Regions from separate parts of the Homo sapiens genome. Here regions 1, 2, 3, 4, 5 and 7 are each linked to region 6. Evidence: promoter capture Hi-C in 16 types of primary human blood cells and fetal thymus (Javierre and others, 2016). All regions are on one chromosome and are shown on one strand. Each heading gives the region's core, a stretch centred on a gene start or on the middle of the fragment in contact. The rest is flanking DNA. Distances are from core to core; before and after follow the strand shown.

Region 1 (2,905 bases), core at 29-2,528, 300 kb after region 6:
TTTGGTACAAAAAGAGAAGAGAGCTAACAGTGTTAAAGAAGATGGTAAAGTCAGATTGTTTTCTTTTTCTGGGATGTATTTCATCAACCCAACAGTTGGGGAGGGGAGGAGGAAGGAGCGCAAATAAACCAAATTTCTAGACAAACATTAAATATTTGCTCCTAAATATACACTTAGGTGGATAATTATAGTACATTGTTATATTTCCTCTTGCTTTAGGTTTATATGTAATGGCATTGTAGGAATAAGCCAATAAGATTAAGGAAGTCCACATTTTCTGTAAAACTAAGGAAGAATTACTTCCAAAGAAAAGTAATAAAAATATGGGAGAAATGAGATTGAGTTTTTTTTTCTCTGTTGTTGCACTTAAATCCCATGAAGGAAAGATACAGAAGCTGGGTTGCCTTCTTAATACCAATTGTAGAAACTAGCCTGATTACAAATTCTATTTTAGCAAAAGACCATTGGCTCTGTGCCAAAACTTCAGAACTACAAGATATGATAGGTATAGATTTATGGGAAATGTAATTAGAAGTTACTTACCCTTGTAAAAAGCACACAAAATAAAGGAAAGCAAGTAAAATACATTAGAGTGAGTTTTTCTGATATTCAAGCTTTCTATACTGGGCTTTGAAGCATTGGAAAACAAGACCAAGAGGAGAAAACTAGCTCCCCTTTGAGTGATATCAACCATCAAATTATCCTGATGATTTCGTGTGTTTCTTAATTATGTCTATGAAATTAAACTAAGCTGAATGACCTATTCACAGATGGACATGAGTTTGCAAATGTGATTCTTTCTGTACATATTATATATTGTCATTTATTTTATATATAGTACATATTTTTATATGTTTAAAATTATAATATATTTGAAATATAATTTTTATATATTTTACATTTATTTGGTATCATAAAGACTTTCATGATATGGAAACTTAAACCAGACTATTTTTGCCTATGAATACACTTCCTGTAAAATATAATCAAGAGTCAGGAAAAAAAAAAAAAGACATCTTCAGTCCATGCATTTTTAAACATCTTTCCTCTTTATTTGTGACAATCTAAATGAAATTGGCTAAAAATTATATCTGAAGCTACTTCTTGATTATTTTACCTACCATGATTGTGCACAAGATGGATAGAATACTGAAGAACTTGTTGCGACCAAACACAGCATATATTTTGATAGCTTGTATCTCCTGAGAATTACTTTCAGAGATTTCACTTGTGAATAGACCAGGCAGGCCACTAACTTCTTCAGCCAACTGCATGGCTAACTTTGGGGAGAACTGCCTTAAACTGGATTCCTTTCCATTTGCATTGAGTTAGCTGAGTTTTTATTGAACCTGCAAAACCTGTTACTTTATAAATAGCTTTTCCTCAGTTTGTCTGCCTTTAACAAAACCTTGAAAAAAGCCAAATCGGCAAGTTTCATTTTGTATTTTAGGAAAACCAGTCTGGATTTCAATACAATTGCTAATCATTTTTTTATCTCCCTTTTCTCTCAACAATAAATAATAGCAAAATGATATTATTAAAACTGGCATAATTGTCAAAACTATAGATTTGTTTGCTTTAAAGATCAGTATCAGCCAGTTTCTCCTTGGAGCTAAAGAATGTTTTTCAATCATGTAGATTGTTTTTTTGAGGAAGCATTAGATGAAAACCTATTAAATGAAAGTATGCAAACTAAGTTCTTTCAGTTATGTTACCTCTTAGTTTATACACGTACCAGTTTCCTGATATCAAACCAGTGAAAACATCCCTAACATCCATCCATCTCTATATGGGTCATGAATGATGTGGCAGGAAGGATGCTGGCCTGACCCTCCTCACTGGGTTCTGTCCATGGCTCTGCTCCTTCTGACACCATGAATGTTAGCCTTTGTCATCTCTGTAACTCAGTTTCATCCTTGGAGTTTATTTGTGTAGGTGATGACAAAGCTTCCCTCCGTCTTTGACATTTGTGTGATCCTATTGAGGGAGAAGATAGTGCCTTTCTGAGGGTTGGCTTTGCACCATAAACAGTTGACACCAATGCTAGGAAAGTGCTCTTCAGTTTTGGCCCTTGGTTTGAGTTTCGGTTTCATTTTTTAGAAGATTAACAGGATCAAAGACATTTCACTGAGAAGTGCCAGCAGATACAGATTTTTGAATCCTAGCACCTTTTCCTGGTCTTTGCCCATGAAGTAAAGATCAAAATCTTGGGGGCAAAATGTGAAACGAGAGTGCAACTACTTAAGTCATTGATGTGACACAGAAAGAGGTCAGGGTTGCTTACATTGATGTTACTGTGACAATGATCACTTAATAGTGTTTTCAGTTTTTCGTGACTGATTTTAACAGTCTTTGATTTTTATTTATGTATCCATTTTAACATCCTCTTACACAGCTTGGAATTAAATTCATTCATTGCTCTTTTCAGCTATATAAGTGGAATTCAACTGGTTAGGGATGAAACAAAGAGGTTAGCTGTATCATTTGAGAAATTGTAAACATTTAGAAATAGTTTGGTCTCTTCAGTTAGGTTTTCAATCATCTTCTAAAGCAGAGAAACAACTACTGAGTTAAACAGTCGATCCAGAATGTTTCAGAAGTTTGAAAGGCAAGTTTTCTGTGGCTACCTAAGTGTTTTTTTAAATTATTATTTCATTTCTAGATGACCCCTAAATCCAAAAGGAAGAGTATCCATAGCCGAATGCTGCGGCCTGTTTCTAGGGCTTTTGGTAAGTGTTTTGCTGCTGCCAATCATTTCCTTGGAACTGTGAAGCACCCTCAGCAAGACCTTAGACCATTTTAGGGATGTTCCTTATGGATGCACTACATGGGTAAATATTGAGAAAGAGTTCAGTGATCTGTGAATGTGTGTTTGCTATTCTATGCTAGACTTAAAATTACTTTT
Region 2 (3,118 bases), core at 514-3,013, 260 kb after region 6:
ATGTCCTTGTGGATATTACATTATGTAGCACTTTATGTCCTGTGTTACTGCTAATTGTGAATATTTCTTCCCACTTCCAGGTTTTTAAGTTGCTGGTGGCAAGGGGTAACCTTTTTCAAGACTGTAGCTCCTCTATGCCAGGTGTCCAGTTTATTTCTCTTGAATGGAATAAAGAAACCAATGTGGAAAATGATAAAATTTTCTATGAATAAGCTGTTTGCTGGAAATAAGAACAGTTGTATCAACTTGTGAGCAACCACAGATGGCATTTATTGCTAATAGTTGTAATTCTTACCCGTGGGTTCAATAGCCCAGTATATCTGAAAAAGCCTAGGTAGTCACCAGCAAGTGTGATATGAGTTAGTGGTGTGATGTAGTTGCCAAAGAAGTCAATTTGACTTGTACCGTATTAATGAAGGTATACTTTCTACAGTAAGGAAGACGATAGCTCTGTTCATCTCAGCTCTGTGCTTTCCAGTCCACTCTTAGTTACAATCCATTTCACTAAGGAGACTTCATGAGGTTCTAGGTGGAAGACAGAATGCAGAAGTGACCTACAGGAAAGGAGGTCAAGGACTGGAGAACTGTGTCAGCGTAGGCATGGGAAAAGGAGCTGGGAATGTTAAACCTGAAGAAAAGAAGGCTAAGGAAGAAAAATAAGTGTATTTAAATATGTGCAGGACTGTCACTAGAAGAGAGCATATGATTGTGCAGAGTGTTCTCAAGGGGAAGATATGGGACCTGCAGGAAGGGTGTAAGAAGACAGATTAAGACTCAAAACCTTATCTAGGAATGACAGGGTACATTTTCTTGGAAGGAATTGAGCTTCATAAACTATGGCCGTCAACAACTTTTCTGTATTGCTTTAGAGAAACTGAACACTATAGGGTTAGGGTGAAGTAGAGAGGTTAAACTAAACAGCCCTAACACAACCATCTTCTATGAGGTCTTCTAACGGGGTAACCCAAGAGATTATAGCCTTTCAGATTGCATCTCCTTTATTTTTCGTATTTATGTACTTGAGAGACGAATTATGAACTGATAAACCCCTTGATTTACTTTTTTCAAAATTTTCAATCTGTACTCTGTGTAATCATTGCATGTCATCTTAAATAGTTTACCTTTTCTGAGCTTTGAGCTCTTTCATGGTAAAGGATCTAAATGTGGTCTGCTGAGCTATGCTCAGAGGAATCTTGGAGACATGAGATTTTATGTCTTCTTTGAATTGAAGAACTTAATTTTGATTGTTCTTTTGCATGACATTTTAAATGTTCTACTTAAAGACCATTTTTGTTGAGTTCATGTAAATCCTCTCCCCTTGGTGAATGCTTAAGGGCATACATTTCAAGTGTCTCTTTGTTCTCTCGTGGTGATTAAAGATACCAACTTTATAGTGCCTCATCCACATGCCTCTCAAATTAGCCTTTTGCAGCCCCAAATGTATATCAGTTTCTTTCTTAGTGTGTGGTTTGTCTCTTGAAATTAGGCATTCATTCTTGGTAAGATATGAATTATTAATGACCCTTTTTGCTTCAGGAGGCACAGATCAATACAATAGTTAGAAGAGTTATGATTTCTATCAATTAAGATTTTAAAAAACTTATAGTTAGCTCTATGCAGGGCATTGTGTAAATGCAGAAAGATATGATTCCTGCCTACAATCAGAGGCAGGAATCATAACTTTCTTGTCTTAGATTTTTAGGGATTTTAGGCAGAGAATTTGATGTGAGAAGCAATATTCATACAACTTCTTTTTCCTAGGGGGATCTCAAGATAATAACGTATGTAACCTCAATATATTTTACAGCAATAGGAGCTGTTTTTATTATACATAAACTTTGGCATTACTGGCCCTTTTTCAACAATAGGTGCTTGAGTGCTGTTATTTTATTGAATTGTCTTCATAACACACTAATAAAGAATGTGCGGTAGATATTATGAACCTGACTTTACAAAGAAAAAGGCAAGAGAGATGGCAGTGCTACAGCAAGTAGACATGGGCTCTGTAATCAGACCTGAAGTCTTCGGAATAGTGTGTAAAGTCTCTATCATTTTGAAATTTATGGGGGAAGAAGGGCAGACTTTAGCTTCCTATCGTTATGATATCAAATAATTCAAAATAGAGAAGTGTGAATTTAACTAAAAAAGAATATTGTTTGTCTCCTCTGCCAAATGAATTATCAGATGGAAGAGGACTCTTGACATGTAAGGCCTTTGAAGAATGAATACTTTTTTTAAGAACATGAAATAAATAGACAACCGGCAGCTCTAACGAAAATATTGGAGACACTTTTAAAACCACACTGTGGTTATCTTTTTCTTCAGACTTCTTGGCTTCCTTCATGCTTTTTTGTATAAGTACAAATATAGAAGAGCATAATCTTAACCTTTCTGAAATATTTTTTGTCTACCATAGAGATCCACCATCTCCCATTGGGTTTTGTGTTTATATCCGTAAAACAATTGAGAATGATTTAGGTGCAATTAAACTGGTAGGGGAGGCATCTTATTGTAATAGAAACTAGATGATATTGACTTCATTACTACCTATGTTAATATAATAAAACCTCAATTTGTTTTTGTTTTTTGGTGGCTCTTAATTTACAAAGAAAAATACTTGATGTAATTGAATCGATTTTTAAAATACCAATTTTTAAGAGATGTTCTGGTTTCTATAGTATTGAGACCAACTGGCTGTTGGGCATCATTTTGTAGTCATTACAACAGTCTCAGTGTTGCACATTTTATTTCTCTGTTTCCTCAGTACCTAACTCTATGTCTAACACATAGAGGGTGCTCACTAAAAGTTAATGAAGGAGTTAGTATCTAGCAAAATGTCACTGAGTGAGGTTCTGAATCATCAAGAAGTGTTCACTTTTGTTCTACGTGCTGCATTTCCTAAGGCAGGAAAGGGAACTGAAATGCCTTCAATTTTTTTCTGGCATTAAAGTTGCCAAAGGTTACTTGCATGAATAAAGTAAATTAATAATTGCTTACAAGCAGCATTCTCAGTGACTCCAGTTAGAAGGGTTTGAGGTTTTCATCCTTGTGCATTCTGTGGTTTGCTGAAGTTTTTTTCATACTCCTTCGTTCTGTGTTTCCTTCTATCTGAATATCG
Region 3 (2,735 bases), core at 59-2,558, 370 kb after region 6:
ACCATCCCTTCTCGCCTCCCCTCTCCACACACTACATTTCTAAATCCTCAAGTCCAAAGGACCCTAACACTGACACTTCTTGCAACCCTTTAAATGAGGCAGCTCTCCCTAGAAAACCCCTTGAGACACAAGTTTGGAAAGTGAGTCAAACGTAAGAGGGATGTCTTCTCCGAGTCTGAGAAGCAAGTTAAAGGGCAAAAGCAGTGAGCCGTGGACGCCTGGAGACAGTTTCTTTCTTCCTGAATTCCCCAAAGCGCAGAGACAGACAGGATCTGCCAGGACAGCGCGCAGGGCGGGGCGGGGACAGGCGCGCCAGGAGCGGGGCGGGCTTCCAGCCGCTGGTTTTGCTGAGGGCTGAGGGACGGCTCAGCGACGCCACGGCCAGCAGCGCTCGCGTCCTCCCCAGCAACAGTTACTCAAAGCTAATCAGATAGCGAAAGAAGCAGGAGAGCAAGTCAAGAAATACGGTGAAGGAGTCCTTCCCAAAGTTGTCTAGGTCCTTCCGCGCCGGTGCCTGGTCTTCGTCGTCAACACCATGGACAGCTCCCGGGAACCGACTCTGGGGCGCTTGGACGCCGCTGGCTTCTGGCAGGTCTGGCAGCGCTTTGATGCGGATGGTGAGTAGAACAAGCCACTTGCACACTCAGGTGTAGACGTGGCTCCAAGCTCAGCCCGCTGAAAGGACCTGGAGTTTCCCCTTTACTGTAGGAAAAGTTATCGACCTGGGTTGTTAATGCAGTGTACCTAATACAGTATCATTAACAGACGTTTGGCATACTGGTGATACACATCTATATACCTTGTTAAAATTCTGGGTGGTGAATTTCCACTTTCCCCTTTCCAATCTCTCTTTGTGTGCGAGCGCGCCATATATATGGTAGACATACATATATATTGTATATACAATGACTAATATCATTGTATATGTTCAAGGCTTGTGGGCTGAGACTCAGCTATTTGAAGTCATCCTTCCCTAAATGGGCTCACTTTTACGCAGTGACTTTGCTGTACACCCCTCACTCTCTCAAAATGAGAATAAATTTTATCAGCTTTCAAAACGACTCCTCCACCAAAAAACTACTTGAAAATAAAATGGAACTACTTAATATTTGTTTTTATTAATAAAGAAATAAAATATCTAAAAGGTGTGTTTTAACTCTGCAAACTGGGATTCAATACTTACACCTGTTAAGTTTCTCCAAGCTTCAGAAATTTTGGGGTTAAATTTTATTGGAAAGTTCACGTTTATTCATTGATTAAAATTCATGTACTTAATAGCCTTCCTTTTCCAAGCACTAATATAAACCCTAGCATAAAGCACGTATTCTGGAACAGTGTTTACTGTTCAAACCCATGTATTCTAGAGGTAGGTGTTGGCACTTTGTTATTGGAATAACAAAAAATAGTGTTGAGGGAAGCTTTATGAATTGTGAGATTAAAAACATATTTAGATAAATACTGTCATGTGTTTTTTATATGTTAGTATTATTTATGTTTATTTTCTCACATTTAGAAAAAGGTTACATAGAAGAGAAGGAACTCGATGCTTTCTTTCTCCACATGTTGATGAAACTGGGTACTGATGTAAGTACTTGCACACTAAGCCTTAATTTATGCCTCTTAGTAAGATACGCACATCCAAGTCTTATATTGATTGGTACCTATTAATTCCAACTCACCTCCTTTCTTCCTTGCATGTATGTAATTTCTCCCCCTCTCCTAGCAACATAGAGGGATTTAGGCAGTTTTTATAAAAGGTGCAACTGTAGCATTAGACATGCTGGTTACTGACTTTCAGTGTAACATCTGTCATCCACTCAGAGATCCTAACTGTAGACTCAGTTAACTTGGTCTTGAACGTCTCCTTGGTTATGTCTCTGCTAATTGATTTATACCTGGGGGTAAAGTAGCCCACTTTGTTCAAAAAGCTGGAAAAGATGTTAAGCACATTAAGATTTTGGGTGTTTAATATGTATGATACTCCTCTGATAGCAAACCACAAACCATTTAAAATCATTTATCCATTATTCATTTTATTAGAAGAGGTTACAGATTTTTCAGGGAATGACAAACCAGAAAACAACCAGCATACTCAGAGCCCAGATACAAATGGAAGCCAATCTATCTAGTGTCCATCTGATGGTAAATATGTCCTTGGGAGATGTAAATGAACTCTTGAAAGTCTCTCTATCAAAGCAGAGAAAAATTTTACACAGAAACACATGAGCGGAGGACAGCCTGGGGATGGGCTCGATCTGATGAAAGCTCCAGTAGGGCATTCATAGTAGAAGGAGACGCTCTAGGGACAATTGAATTTAAATGAATGATGGAGATAGTTTGTCCTTATCATTCAGCTGTTTATCTGAAGAATAGAAGTGCATCACATTCTCATGTGAGAGCTCAGTGAGGGAACAAGGAGCTCTTCACCACTGTTGAGAACATGGGGAGGGTATGTGGGGGGCAGGGGAAGCTGGTTCAGAAACAAAAGGGCTGGCTTCCGCCTTCTTCAGCCACACAGATCTCTTGGTCCCCCTCTACTTCTGTCTGCCTCTCATATTCTGTCTGTCTCTCTTTTTTATGTCTATCTCTGTCATTTTTCTGCTCACTTCTGTTTCTTATCTCTGTGTTTCATGGCTCTCATCTCCTACTGTTTCTTGCCTTTCTCTCTGACCTCTCTGTTGCCCATCTTTCTTGTCTCTGTTTCTCATTTGTTTCTCCATCTCTCTGTCTCTGTG
Region 4 (2,811 bases), core at 283-2,782, 400 kb after region 6:
TTTTGGTCAGAGCATGTTTGCTATAGGGATTTGAGTACCAATGTCACAAGGCAGTGAACATTTGGTTTCAGAAATTCTGGAGCCTGTTCTGGCCTAGGAATACTTCATCATCATTCCAGCCAGGGTAAATGAGCACCCTTGCAGCTTCAGGGCACGGAGCCCCGTGGGCAGGTGTGTGTGTGTGCAGGGGATTGAAGGGGAGCTGGGTTGTGGGCTGAGGGCTGGCAGGGGCACTTGCTCATGGAGCTCAGGCTGTGACCAACCTGCCACCACTGCCTGGAGCAGTTGTCAGGACTAGGCTTATATCTCTTGGTTTATAGTCAAGGGTAGGGAAAATAGATAGAAATGAACTATATAAGCATGAATCCAGTGAAGTGAAAACTGGCAGTCTTAGAGTTGACTCAACTATCATGAAGTTTATATTTCTTTAGGGGAAATTCAGGCCACTGAATTGGAGGGAAATCCACGTAGAGTCTTTTCTTGCTTTCCCAGGGAAAAAGAGGCAATTAGAAAAGGTAAATATCACATCTCTGGCATAGTCTATGGCACCAGATGTTTTACTTCATAACCAAACATGAAGCAAACCAAATTCATGATGAGATATCCAGACTTTATAGAGCTAAGAGCCTGGTTTTATGGAAAGAGCTCTGGTGACAGATATACTTAGATTAAAATCTTGCTTCTTAAACAACCTACTTCAATCTTTCTAAATATCAGTTTCCTTATTTATTACAAACGCAGATTTTTTTTACATTATAAGGATGTTGTGATAATTAAATGTAATAACATAAAAACTATTGAGCCCTCATAAATGGTCTTTATTATAGTTTAAAAATTAAGAAGCCATTATGTCTCAAACAAATATGCCAAGCATTCAAAATTCACTAAAGGTTATACTTGCAAAGAAGCATAATGTCTTAATGTCACACAAGATCTGATTTCTAGTCTGGTGCTACAGGCATGCTGCAAGCTTCCCTCATTATTAATATTTGAACTTAGAGCTACAGAGGCCCCAGGAAAGTAGAAGAGCAGACACAGCCGAATATGTGTGCCATTCATCCCTGCTGGTATACACTCAGAGATGGAAAAATTAGGCAAATGATTTTTTTCCTGATTCTTATTCTTACGTGAGCCATAGCCAATTTTCTGATAGGTAGAAGCATAATTTACCACACTGGTGTTTAGTTCAACCCAGGCCAATTTCGAGCACAGGATTGTTTTCTCTTGGAGTAAGTTTGCACAGCAATGGAGTTAGGCCCACGTCTTTCAAGGTGAGTTGTTACTTGCTTAGAGCTCAAGCTGACCTAGCTTTCTATTAAGATAGAACCTCTCATAATGAAGGTGTCACAGAAAATAACTCATGGCTCATCTTCTGGCAAAGTTTATCCCCATCAGACTTTTTACTGGATACTGTATAGTGTTTATGTTTAAGGGACGTAATTGGACATGTAACATGTCCAAATGTATAAAAATGTAACCTGTGTTTTAATTCTGTAATACACATTTTTGGTGCCAAAGTGGTGAGAATAGGTTTTCAAATTCATTTGAAATATTAAAAATAAACTGGATTTGGAGACAGAGGAAGGATGGGGGACTAATGCATTTTTTAAAGCAAAAATCTGTTGGATGTATTTTCAGATTATCTCGCTCCCTCTTTTTCCCTGTGCAGCCTCCTTATATGGATATGCTTAGAGATATTCTGTAGCATTAAAATGTTGTAAAGTCACAAAATTCACTCACATTTCAACTCAGATCTGCAAAGAAATCTCTCTCTTCTATTTTGCCCAAACCAATCTGGTCTTTCTAATTTGTGGTTAGTGCAGAAACTTTTAACTTTTAGTCCTATCTTGTTTAAAGTTTAGTCTCATCTAATAATGTAAACAACTTCTTTGGACAATGCTAAGTCTCTCTATGAAAGGAAAGACTCAGTGTCAACACCTTTTGCCTTCACGGAAACATGAGGTTTCTCCTATACCCTATGAGAGTACCCTATGATATGAGCCCTCCAAGCCCTCCTTGGTGGTTGATATGCTAAATGAGGGCTAGAATAAAATAGTTTCAGAAAACCTTGACTCAAACCAAGTACCCATATTTCAAGCTTGTAATCTTTATAAAAATCCTGTTTTGCCTGTCAGAGACTGTGGTAGTCGTTGCTGCTATCCTCCAAATAATTAGTTTTCCTCTTAAGCACATGGCAGGATTGTATTATTCTGTCCCTTTGAAGGTAGCTGTGGCCAGGGATCTGCTTTGGACAATAAAATTTTAATCAGTAAATTATTTATTATTCTTTCTTTCTGCCATGGCAATCAGGAATGTGCCAGATGGTCACTACTTTGTCACTCCATGTCGCCAGAGTATAGACAACATGAAGTAGAGCTGCCAGCTAACCCTGTGAAAAATAAACCTGTGTTGTGTTAAGCCACTGAGATTTAGGAGATTTGGTTACTACGACTCATCCTAACAGAGAGGCTGACATGCAATTCCTTCTGTGACAAATACTAATTTTCCCCCAGGCAAGTGGGCTCCTCAGCCAATTTAGGCAAATATGTAATCAGAAGAGCAAAATAGAAAAGTGCTTTAATAACGTTCAGAATTAGTTCCTGTTACAAGTACAACCATTTTCCCTTCTGCATTTCAGATGAAGATTTTTGACAGAAATAAAGATGGTCGGTTGGATCTAAATGACTTAGCAAGGTGAGTTACATGGAAATGATATCATACATTCAGAAATACCTTACTAGGGGTCTGATGACATCATATATTTCCTTTTGAGACTGGAGATCAAGCCTCACCTGGAGTCTAAAAGAATAG
Region 5 (2,900 bases), core at 217-2,716, 470 kb after region 6:
TTTCCCTACAAGGAGACAAAACCTAAAAAAATGAAGTCATTGAAAATAAAACTCAATACAAGTGAGTTTGATATCAAATTAGACACTGCTTACTTCTTGAACTGTATACAGGTAATGGCTTAAACAAATAGATTTTTATTTTTCCCAATTTATAGGCAGTTCAGATCTGGTATACCAGTTCAATAAAGCCAGAGGGACTCAAGTTTTTTTTTTTATTTTTCTACTCGACCCCATGGTAGAATATATTATTGTTCACAGATACTTGCTGCCTTCTTCATACTTCTTGGCTGCATTAATATCCATCTGGATCATGTGACTTACTTTGATCAATTCAATTTAATTAGAAATAACATGTTTCCAGCCATAAGTTTCTCCATATATTCTCTCTTTTCTGTGCCATGAGACTGGCTGTAATGTTTCAGATGGAAGCTGCCTATAAGCCTGGTCCCAACATGAAGATGATGTGGATCACAGCTGCTGCTGGCCTGTGCTAGACATGTATCTTGAAGCAGGAAATAAAATTACATTGTATGCCACTAATTAAGGCTTCATCTCTTACCACAGCCTAACTTCTCCTTTCCTAACCAACACAGAAATTAGTGCAAGGCGTAGCATAGGGTGTTGCCATAGATTAAAAACAAAATAAAACAAAGCACCGCCTTTTTTGGGGCATTGGCTTCAGGGATGGGATAGGAGCAGAAAAGAAGCTGTTATTAGAGTTTAGAAGGGCAGTAGTACTTAATTTGCATAGGTGAAACATTTAGAAAACTTTAGAAATGAATTTATAGGTAATTTCCCTATTGAGCTTATTATTTTTGGTGAAGTTCTTGGCATAGTTAATGTAAATCATGTGATTTACTATTGACTATATTTCACAAAGTATAATAAAACAAGACATAATCTGAAAAAGTAATTAGCTGGTTTGAAAATCAGAATGAAGGAAATTGAGAGAAACTAAAAACTGTAGACTTACTGAGTTGAAAGATACTATTTCTCAACTCCCAACAGTTAAAGATAAAACTGAGAAATGATTTAAGTAAGAAAGTCCTTTTAAAGCTTGGTCTTGTGCAAGTATCAAATCAAGGTGGTAACCATTCATAAAAATAATGAAGCAAAGGTTATGGCTTTTCTATTGAAGCCTGGTAGGCTCAAAGTAACCCATGTCAGAGAGAGAGAGAGAGAGAGAGAGAGAAAGGAGGGAAGGAGAAGCACTTGTATAGGAAACTGGTTATGATTTTGAGTGACATAATACCACAGAACTACCAACCTGGATAAAGGAGACTGTGACTTATCAAGGGTTATGTCACTTGTGTGTGTGGGGGGAGGGGGGTGTCGTATTTTAAAAAAATTTTTTTTGTCAGCAATGGGCCTAGTATTCTGCCCAGTCTGCAAGGACTATTCAAATATGGTCAAAGGAGATATTGGAAAAGGAAGGACTGGCCAGAGCATGGAGCCAAGACCTGTGAAAAATAATATCCTAGGGGAATTACTCATGGCATGCACAGCCACAGATTAATTAGGGATTATCACATATGCGGAGATAGGAGGAAGACTGAAATAGCTACCCACATGATCTCAGATTTCTTTGAACTACAAACTCCTGTGCAATTCTGTCTGCAATTATCTTTTCTGTGTCCTAGCATGACACATTGGGTGTGCATGGGTGTGTAGGGGAAGCAGACACCTAGTCTCGTTAGTTCATGAGTTTCTGGAGCAAGACAAGTCATATTCAACCTGACGAGATAATATCATAAAATTGTCAACATCAGCCCTGAAGCTATAATTAAATGAGACTTTGACTTGGCTTTTCATAGGAAGGGATTAAGTATATTTTGTGTGCAGAAAGGATAGTTTACTAACTAAATAATTTTGAATTGAAGCTTGGACAGTGATAGCTTATATGACTGTTCAAAAATTTTCCCTGGCCCTGCCCTGGAAAGAATTGTATTTCTCTATTTTGGTTCTATTGGGCTTGGCCATCTGACTTGCTTTGCCCAATGAAATTTGAGTGGAAGTGACACCTAGGCAAAACCTGTAAGAGCAAGCACTTGGCTCACCATAATTTCTCTTTTACTTCTGCCATGAGACCATCCATATTCCAAATAAAGCCTGATTTGTCAAACTGGGCCCCTAAGTGAGGAAAACATGGTGAGAAGCTGTAGCCAAGACACGATGGTCATGAATTGTGAACAGCACATAAAACTTTGTTATTATAAGCAACTGAGATTTTTGGGTCATTTGTTATCCCAGTGTAACTTAGCTTATCCTGACTGATAGAGCCATCATCAGTTTATTGGCTTTCATCTTGCTGTTGTCTAATGAGCCTCAGGTACTTGCCATACCTCAAGACCTGATATCCACTGTTACGGCAGAAGGAAAAAGAAAAAAGAAAAAAAAAGATGAGACACAGGCCTACTTCTTTTTATGCATCAATGGCCAGAAATGTGTAGGCCCCATTTGTTTCAAGGAAGCCACAGAAATGAAGTTTTTGTTCCTATATGCCTTATAGTAGATACAAGCTAGGGCACAGAAATTTGGAAATGTGGTTTTGCTTAGCCAATTAATAATGCTGGCCACAGAAACTCATCTACTGCTTCTTCTCCCCACAGAGCATGTGCTGTATATTTGCTATAATACAAACACGCGACGCTTAACCATAGGAATACATTCTGAGAAATGTGCTGTGCGGCAGTTTTGTTGTGTGGATACCATAGAGTGCAGTTACACAAACCTAGATGGTAGAGCTTGCTATACACCTAGGTTATGTGGTCTAGCCCATTGCTCCTAGGCTACAAACCTGTACCACATGTTACTATACTGAATATTGCAGGCAATTAAAACAGTGATATCTGAGAATCTGAACATATCTAAACATAGAAAAGGTACAGTAAAAAGATAAA
Region 6 (2,712 bases), core at 109-2,608:
CAATGCAAGAGTTAGATAGTAAAACCAGACAAATACACAAGCAATGAAACACGACACCATATGGTTGGGTTTAGAAAAGTGTTTCAGGCAATACATATTGTAGAGGCTTAGGGATCACAGTAATCTGAAAATCCCTGGAAAATATTCACAAAGAAGGTAGACCATTGGGATGGGTTTGAAAACATAGATAAGAATCAGATAACCTTAAGAGGAAGGAGGAAGCAAACAGTGAGTCTGGTTGTAATAGAGAAGGGAGTGGGAGAGGTTAAGGAGGGTGGGAAGGGGCCAGGTTGGCAAATCCTTAGTGGTAAGGCCTGGCTGTGGGGCTGAAGATGATTCTAAGGGGTCCAAGGTCAACAGCAGTGTTTAAAATTAGATTGCCAAGTGCATGGATTCCCTTTCCTTTCCTCCTTTTCTGTCCTTTAAAAGCAGAACCTGATTAGACAGTCTGGGACATTCCCAGCCCTAGGCTAAAAAGCAGCGATTGAGGCACAAAGTATTCTTGGCCCTGAAGTTGAACCTCTGGGGATGGAGCTCAGGGAAGTCATAGGGAGTTTGGGCCCAGGTAGGATCAGACCTATCCGCAGGCTTACATAGGCTCCAGTGATTAAAGCTCAGCTTCCTGAATATGCCCCGAGGATAAAAGAGACTTTTCCGAGTGAAAGGCATTTTCCAAGGCGCTCTCAACGGGAATGTCTGAGATAGCGAACTGCGGCTGCAGAGCACCAGCTGAACGCACACACACAAGTGTCTTCTCACGGTATGATTAGTGTTCACAGGTTTCGTCTAGCTCATCAGAAATGAAGAATAGCGATGATGAAGTGACATGTCACCGGGAGGGTTGAAAAAGAAAAAGTGCGTAAGAGGGTCCCAAAAAGAACCAGCTTCCGTGTAGACGGGTCTGCAGAATCTGCCGTCTCCCGTCTTCTGGGTCCCCTGGCCCGCCCGGAGTGGGGACAAGGAAATGGAAAGCCCGGCTCACCCGGCTCTCCTCCCTCGCAGCCAGCAGATGGCTCCCGGGCTCTCTCGCGAGCCCGCTCGCCCCCTCTCCAGACGCAGGGCTTTTGCGGTTTGGGAGGGAGGCTGCGAGGAGGGGCGCGGTGCCCGCCGCCGCCACCGCAGCACCGCACAGCGTCTCTCCTGGGGGTGCGACCTACGCCGGGGACCCAGCGCTCGGGCACCGGAGGCCGGCCTCGCACCGGTGCGGAGGCCGGCTCTCGCGAGGTGAGGAGGAAACGCAGGAGGAAGAGGAGAAGGAGAAGGAGGAGAAGGAGGAGGGCCGGAGCTGCCCCCGCCCAGCCGGAGCCCGGCAGGAGCGCGAGGAAAACCTACTCCCCCCGCCCCGCGCCGCTCTCCCCGCCCTCTCCCACGCCTTCCGCTTTCACCTAGGGCTGTAGGTGCGGCGCGGAGGCTGGGCGGGAGCTACGCCGGCCCAAGCCCCGCCGGGGACCAGCGAGCCGGGAGGAGGAGCAGGCGCCACAGCCGCCCCGCGCCCCGCGCCCGCTTGTAATCCGGTCCGCTCCTTATTCAGCCGCCGGGAACTGCGAGGAGGCGTCATGTAGCAGCAGCAGCAAATCCGCCTCGCATTTGCAACTCTTTTTTTTTTTTTTGGTGGGGCGGGGGGCGCGCGGCAAAATTCTGTCTCCGCCCCCCCTTTTCTTGCCCACTTCCATTTGCAAGCTGCATCTGCCTCTCTAAAAAAATTGAGGAGTTCGGGGAAGGGCAGGGGGCCATAAATCAGAGTTGGACCTGCAATAACCCCCACACCTACAGGGCAACCATGACCGAGGAGAGCTCTGACGTTCCCAGGGAGTTGATAGGTAAGATTCACGCGGTTGTTGGTTTTCCACCTTCCTCTGCGTACTCCTCACCTCTCTCTCCCTTCCCACCTCTGCTTTCCCGCAGGTCTCGAGAAGTCTTGGCGCCCCTTAGGGCAGAGTGGTGTTGGGCAGGGTCACTGGGGGTGCCGGGAAGTTTGTTCCCATCCGACCGCCTGTAGAGCCAAGTGCAGAGAGGGAAGGCTTCGGGGAGGAATCGGGAGTCCTCGGGAGGTGGGTGGGAGGAGGGTCTCGACTGTGAGCCCTGGGCACCTCCTCTTGCCCGGAAGCGGGGATCCAGGTTGGCGAAAGAAGGGGGCGGGCCATCTTAGACTTGGGAGTTCTGCAAGCGAGGGGAGCCCTTTACAGCTCCCAGCCCACTGCCCCAAACTCGGGAAAGTCCGGGAAAGCCTATTGGAAGGACAGGTGGCGAGCGCACAGTAGGTCGTCTCCGGCACGTGTCAGGCGCTTTCCTGAAAATGCCCCGCGGGAGGTGATCTTCTGACACGCAGACTTGGGGGAGTGGGCGCTAGTCTGGTAAAATGACTGGGCTTGGCAAGGTGTGGCTTGGTGTAGCCAGCTGGGAGCGAAAGGGTTACAGGGCTGACGCAGACTCAGGCCAGGAAATAGAGGGTTAATGATAAAAGCCTTATTTTAATAATGATTAACCTACCGATTCTCCCTATAGGGGATCTCTTAGGGAACCCGTGTGTGTTACGCTGTGCAAGGTGACCCATTGTTTGAGTACCTTGAGGTTTTTTTTTTTTTGGTGGTGGTGGGGGCGGGGCTGGTTAAGTCTTGGGGTTTAACTTAATTATCTGGAGGGTTAAAATGGCAGAGCTGAAATAGGATGGGAGAGTGTTCTGAAAACCTAGCGTTTAAGCATGTATATGTG
Region 7 (3,127 bases), core at 323-2,822, 360 kb after region 6:
GATCTGCCTATTCTGGATATTTCATATAAATTGAACCACATGGTATATTGTTCTTTGTGACTGGTTTCATTCACTCAACATAATGTTTTCAAGAGTCTTCTATGTTGTAGCATGTATCAATATTTCATTCATTTTTTATTGCTGAATAATATTCCACTGTATGAATAGACTATATGTATCCATCATCCAGTTGATAATGTTTGGGCGTTTCCACTTTTTAGCTATTATGAGTAATGCCACTATAAACATTTGTGTACAAGTTTTTATGTAGATATTATTGCTTTTTTAAGAAAAGCAAGTACTAGGCCAGGTGCAGTGGCTCATGCCTGTAATCCCAGTACTTTGGGAGACCGAGGTGGGAGGATCGCTTGAGCTCAGAAGTTTGAGACCAGCCTGGACAACATGGCAAAATCCCATTTCCACAAAAAATAAAAATTAGCCAGGCATGGTGGTATGCACCTGTAGCCCCAGCTACTTGGGAGGCTGAGGTGGGAGGATTTCTTGAGCCCAGGAAGTTGAGGCTACAGTGAGCCATGATCCTGCCACTACACTCCGGTCTGGGCAACAGAGTGAGACCCTGTCTCAAAAAACAAAAACAAAACAAACGAACAAACAAAACCCAAGTACTATACATAAGATTAGTTTTCAGGCCCGGTGTGATGGCTTATGCCTGTAATCCAAGCACTTTGGGAGGCCAAGGAAGGCGGATCATGAGGTCAGGAGGTTGAGACCAGCCTGGCCAACATAGTGAAACCCTGTATCTACTAAAAAAACAAAAACTAGCTGGGTGTGGTGGCACGCACCTGTAGTCCCAGCTACTTGGGAGGCTGAGGCTGAAAAATCGCTTGAACCTGGGAGACAGAGGTTGCAGTGAGCCGAGATCACGCCACTGCAGTCCAGCCTGGGTGACAGAGCGAGACTCCATCTCAAAAAAAAAAAAAAAAAGAAAAAAAAAGAAAAGAAACTAGTTTTCAATGATTTTTTTTCAGGGTAGTAAAGAAGACGTTACAAGATATTTATTATAAAAAGGGGCCTTGGGTCTGATGGGACTGAAAACTGCTACTTTAGCAAAAAGAAAACAAGCTTTGACTTCAGAAAGACCCAAGACTGAGCTCTAACTCTGCTACATACTGACAGGAATTTTGAGGAAGTTACTTAAATGCTCTGAGTCCCAGTTGGCTCATCTCTAAAAACAGGAAAATTAATATCTACATCGCAAGACCATTTGGAGGATTCACAAGATAATGTGGGGAACATCTAGCACACTGTAGGTACTCAGCAAATGTGGTTCTGTTTCTCCAGCCACTTGACTTTGCATCTTCTCAACATGCAAGGGAGCATAGTCACTTCAATTGCTGGCCAGTGCAGCTCTTCCAGGTAAAAGACCTCTGCTAACTTCTTCCCATTGTGTAGAGAGAAGATTTTAATCTTCTCTAAAATTCATCTATATCCTCTCAGCTTCCAAAGACCTCCTCTGATCATCCTTTGTGAGATACCTGATTTGGTGACAGCATCATGATTCCCATATCCCTTCCTGTGATACAAACCAGGCTCTGTCCACCCAGAAGATGATGAGTAGGTTTTCGCTATATATTTAGGAGTGGAAGTCCTTCCTTCTCAGACTATACTTGTTTTTCCCTTCTCTGACTCTACACAGGTCCTGCTGTGTCTTTCTTAACCTGCAGCAATGTACAAAAAAGAACATTTTGATGTGCCAATATGTAAATGTGCTACTTTTGATTACCAACGAAGTAACACACCAAGCACATTCTGAACCTCAGCTCCTTCCATTCCCCATCCTGTACAGATGACATAGGATGCAAGGGTCAGAGCTGTGGCAAACATACTCCTTGTACTCAATACCTGGATATGTTATTAAAGTGGAACATATAAAATGTTTTATAGGTTACATCTAAGTGTGTGATGCATGAAAAAACTCTATTCTTGCACCAGACTCCATTCTCGCACCAGAGTCTCCATTCTTGCACCAGAGACTCCATTCTTTGACCTATGCAGCCAGCTGAAGGTCCCTGTAGTTCTGTTGACCATCTGCAAACATGGAAAAGCTTGGGTTTAGGCCACAACTATAGGGATCTGAGTGTTCTGAATTGGGACTGCTTAGATTTTTTTTTTTTATATATATAAAGCTTAATGTAGACCCAGCATGCCCCAGCATTTAGGACATTTTTCTCACCCACACTCATACTGAAGCCTGGAAATGAGCCATGCACACTCCCTCTGCTCCCATTCAGACAACAAAATTGAGCCACTCTGCTGGAAAAGCCCATCTTTCTTCCCAGCCCATAGGTTAAAGGGGCAACTCTAAACCTTCTCCCCTAAATGACTGGCATGAACATCTGACCCACAGGGGATCAGTCAGGTTCTTTCTCCAAATAATTTGGAAAAGTTTAAGAAGAGCTAGTTCAGGGGCTGGCAAACTATTGCCTATAGGCAAAATCTGGCAATGCTTGCTAGTTTAATAATGTCTGCGACTGTCAATAGTTGCAGGAGATATTTTATGGATCTCGGTAGCATAAAATATTGACTATCTGACTCTTTACAGACAAAGCTTTCCAACCCCAGAGCAAGAAGTTTACAGAGACTTGGAGGCTGAGACCACCATTTGGAGGCAGGAGGGCCGTGTGCACTCAGAATAGAAGAAACTGTGCTCAGAGACATGGAAGTGAGAGAGAGAGCATGAAGCAGCGAGTGCCAGGAGAAGCAGAAAAGAACCAGGCAGTTCAAAGAAAGGGCAGAAAGGGCCAGACAACCTTCCAGTGTCTGTGAGACACATCAACCTTGCTTGTGCTCTGCATCTGTGACTGTCCCATGTATACAATAAACCGTTTTTACCTAAACTAGTTTAAACGTGTTCCTGTTTTTTTCAACAAATGATTCCTGAAAAAATCAGCCATAGGGGCCATTATGTGGCTGCAATAAGCCTGAACCAATTAAGATCTTTGAGTCCACTGCTGATTCCCTTGATAAGTCCCAGAGGGAGTTAAGCTTAGAGAACAATGGTAGGCAATAAAAGGTGCTTGTTTCTAGGGACCTTTGGCTCTTAATCCATGGGTCCCCTGATCCTGGTGAGTCATGCTCATCCACATTTGAGTGAAAAGGGCCACTG

What was found. Contacts are between HindIII fragments. The CHiCAGO score rates a contact against its expected background, and 5 or more counts as called.
Region 1: a contact is called between a fragment that was not itself captured here and the fragment with the promoter of CARMIL1 in region 6, in 14 of 17 cell types (megakaryocytes, erythroblasts, M2 macrophages and 11 more). The highest score is 15.8, in megakaryocytes.
Region 2: a fragment that was not itself captured here is called in contact with the fragment with the promoter of CARMIL1 in region 6 in 15 of 17 cell types (M2 macrophages, megakaryocytes, M1 macrophages and 12 more); the score reaches 15.9 in M2 macrophages.
Region 3: a fragment that was not itself captured here is called in contact with the fragment with the promoter of CARMIL1 in region 6 in 2 of 17 cell types (erythroblasts and megakaryocytes); the score reaches 7.2 in erythroblasts.
Region 4: a fragment that was not itself captured here is called in contact with the fragment with the promoter of CARMIL1 in region 6 in 1 of 17 cell types (endothelial precursors); the score reaches 5.3 in endothelial precursors.
Region 5: a contact is called between a fragment that was not itself captured here and the fragment with the promoter of CARMIL1 in region 6, in 2 of 17 cell types (erythroblasts and megakaryocytes). The highest score is 5.9, in erythroblasts.
Region 7: a contact is called between a fragment that was not itself captured here and the fragment with the promoter of CARMIL1 in region 6, in 1 of 17 cell types (erythroblasts). The highest score is 5.4, in erythroblasts.

Annotation. Positions count from the first base shown.
Region 1 is chr6:25,578,262-25,581,166 of GRCh38, forward strand. It overlaps CARMIL1 (capping protein regulator and myosin 1 linker 1), which reads left to right. Exons shown (of 37, transcript NM_017640.6): 30 at 2,663-2,729. Among named protein-coding and RNA genes, the nearest start is that of SCGN, 73 kb to the right of the region's middle. The HindIII fragment of the contact is 1,333 bases long and covers 613-1,945 here.
Region 2 is chr6:25,534,694-25,537,811 of GRCh38, forward strand. All of the region lies in intron 24 of CARMIL1 (capping protein regulator and myosin 1 linker 1), which reads left to right. Among named protein-coding and RNA genes, the nearest start is that of SCGN, 120 kb to the right of the region's middle. The HindIII fragment of the contact is 3,740 bases long and covers 1-3,118 here.
Region 3 is chr6:25,651,869-25,654,603 of GRCh38, forward strand. It overlaps SCGN (secretagogin, EF-hand calcium binding protein), which reads left to right and starts at 347. Exons shown (of 11, transcript NM_006998.4): 1 at 347-617; 2 at 1,514-1,584. The coding sequence starts at 536. The HindIII fragment of the contact is 215 bases long and covers 1,202-1,416 here.
Region 4 is chr6:25,679,313-25,682,123 of GRCh38, forward strand. SCGN (secretagogin, EF-hand calcium binding protein) reads left to right here. Exons shown (of 11, transcript NM_006998.4): 7 at 2,639-2,694. LOC124901284 (a long non-coding RNA gene) reads right to left here. Exons shown (of 2, transcript XR_007059517.1): 2 at 2,561-2,811. It also overlaps the pseudogene PRELID1P2. Among named protein-coding and RNA genes, the nearest start is that of SCGN, 29 kb to the left of the region's middle. The HindIII fragment of the contact is 1,128 bases long and covers 969-2,096 here.
Region 5 is chr6:25,749,469-25,752,368 of GRCh38, forward strand. It overlaps a transcript of SLC17A1 not described here. Among named protein-coding and RNA genes, the nearest start is that of SLC17A4, 3.8 kb to the right of the region's middle. The HindIII fragment of the contact is 824 bases long and covers 1,055-1,878 here.
Region 6 is chr6:25,278,016-25,280,727 of GRCh38, forward strand. It overlaps CARMIL1 (capping protein regulator and myosin 1 linker 1), which reads left to right and starts at 1,359. Exons shown (of 37, transcript NM_017640.6): 1 at 1,359-1,820. The coding sequence starts at 1,781. RefSeq lists a silencer at 1,087-1,556. The HindIII fragment of the contact is 9,381 bases long and covers 1-2,712 here.
Region 7 is chr6:25,632,967-25,636,093 of GRCh38, forward strand. No RefSeq gene overlaps it. Among named protein-coding and RNA genes, the nearest start is that of SCGN, 18 kb to the right of the region's middle. RefSeq lists an enhancer at 2,673-3,127. The HindIII fragment of the contact is 983 bases long and covers 1,082-2,064 here.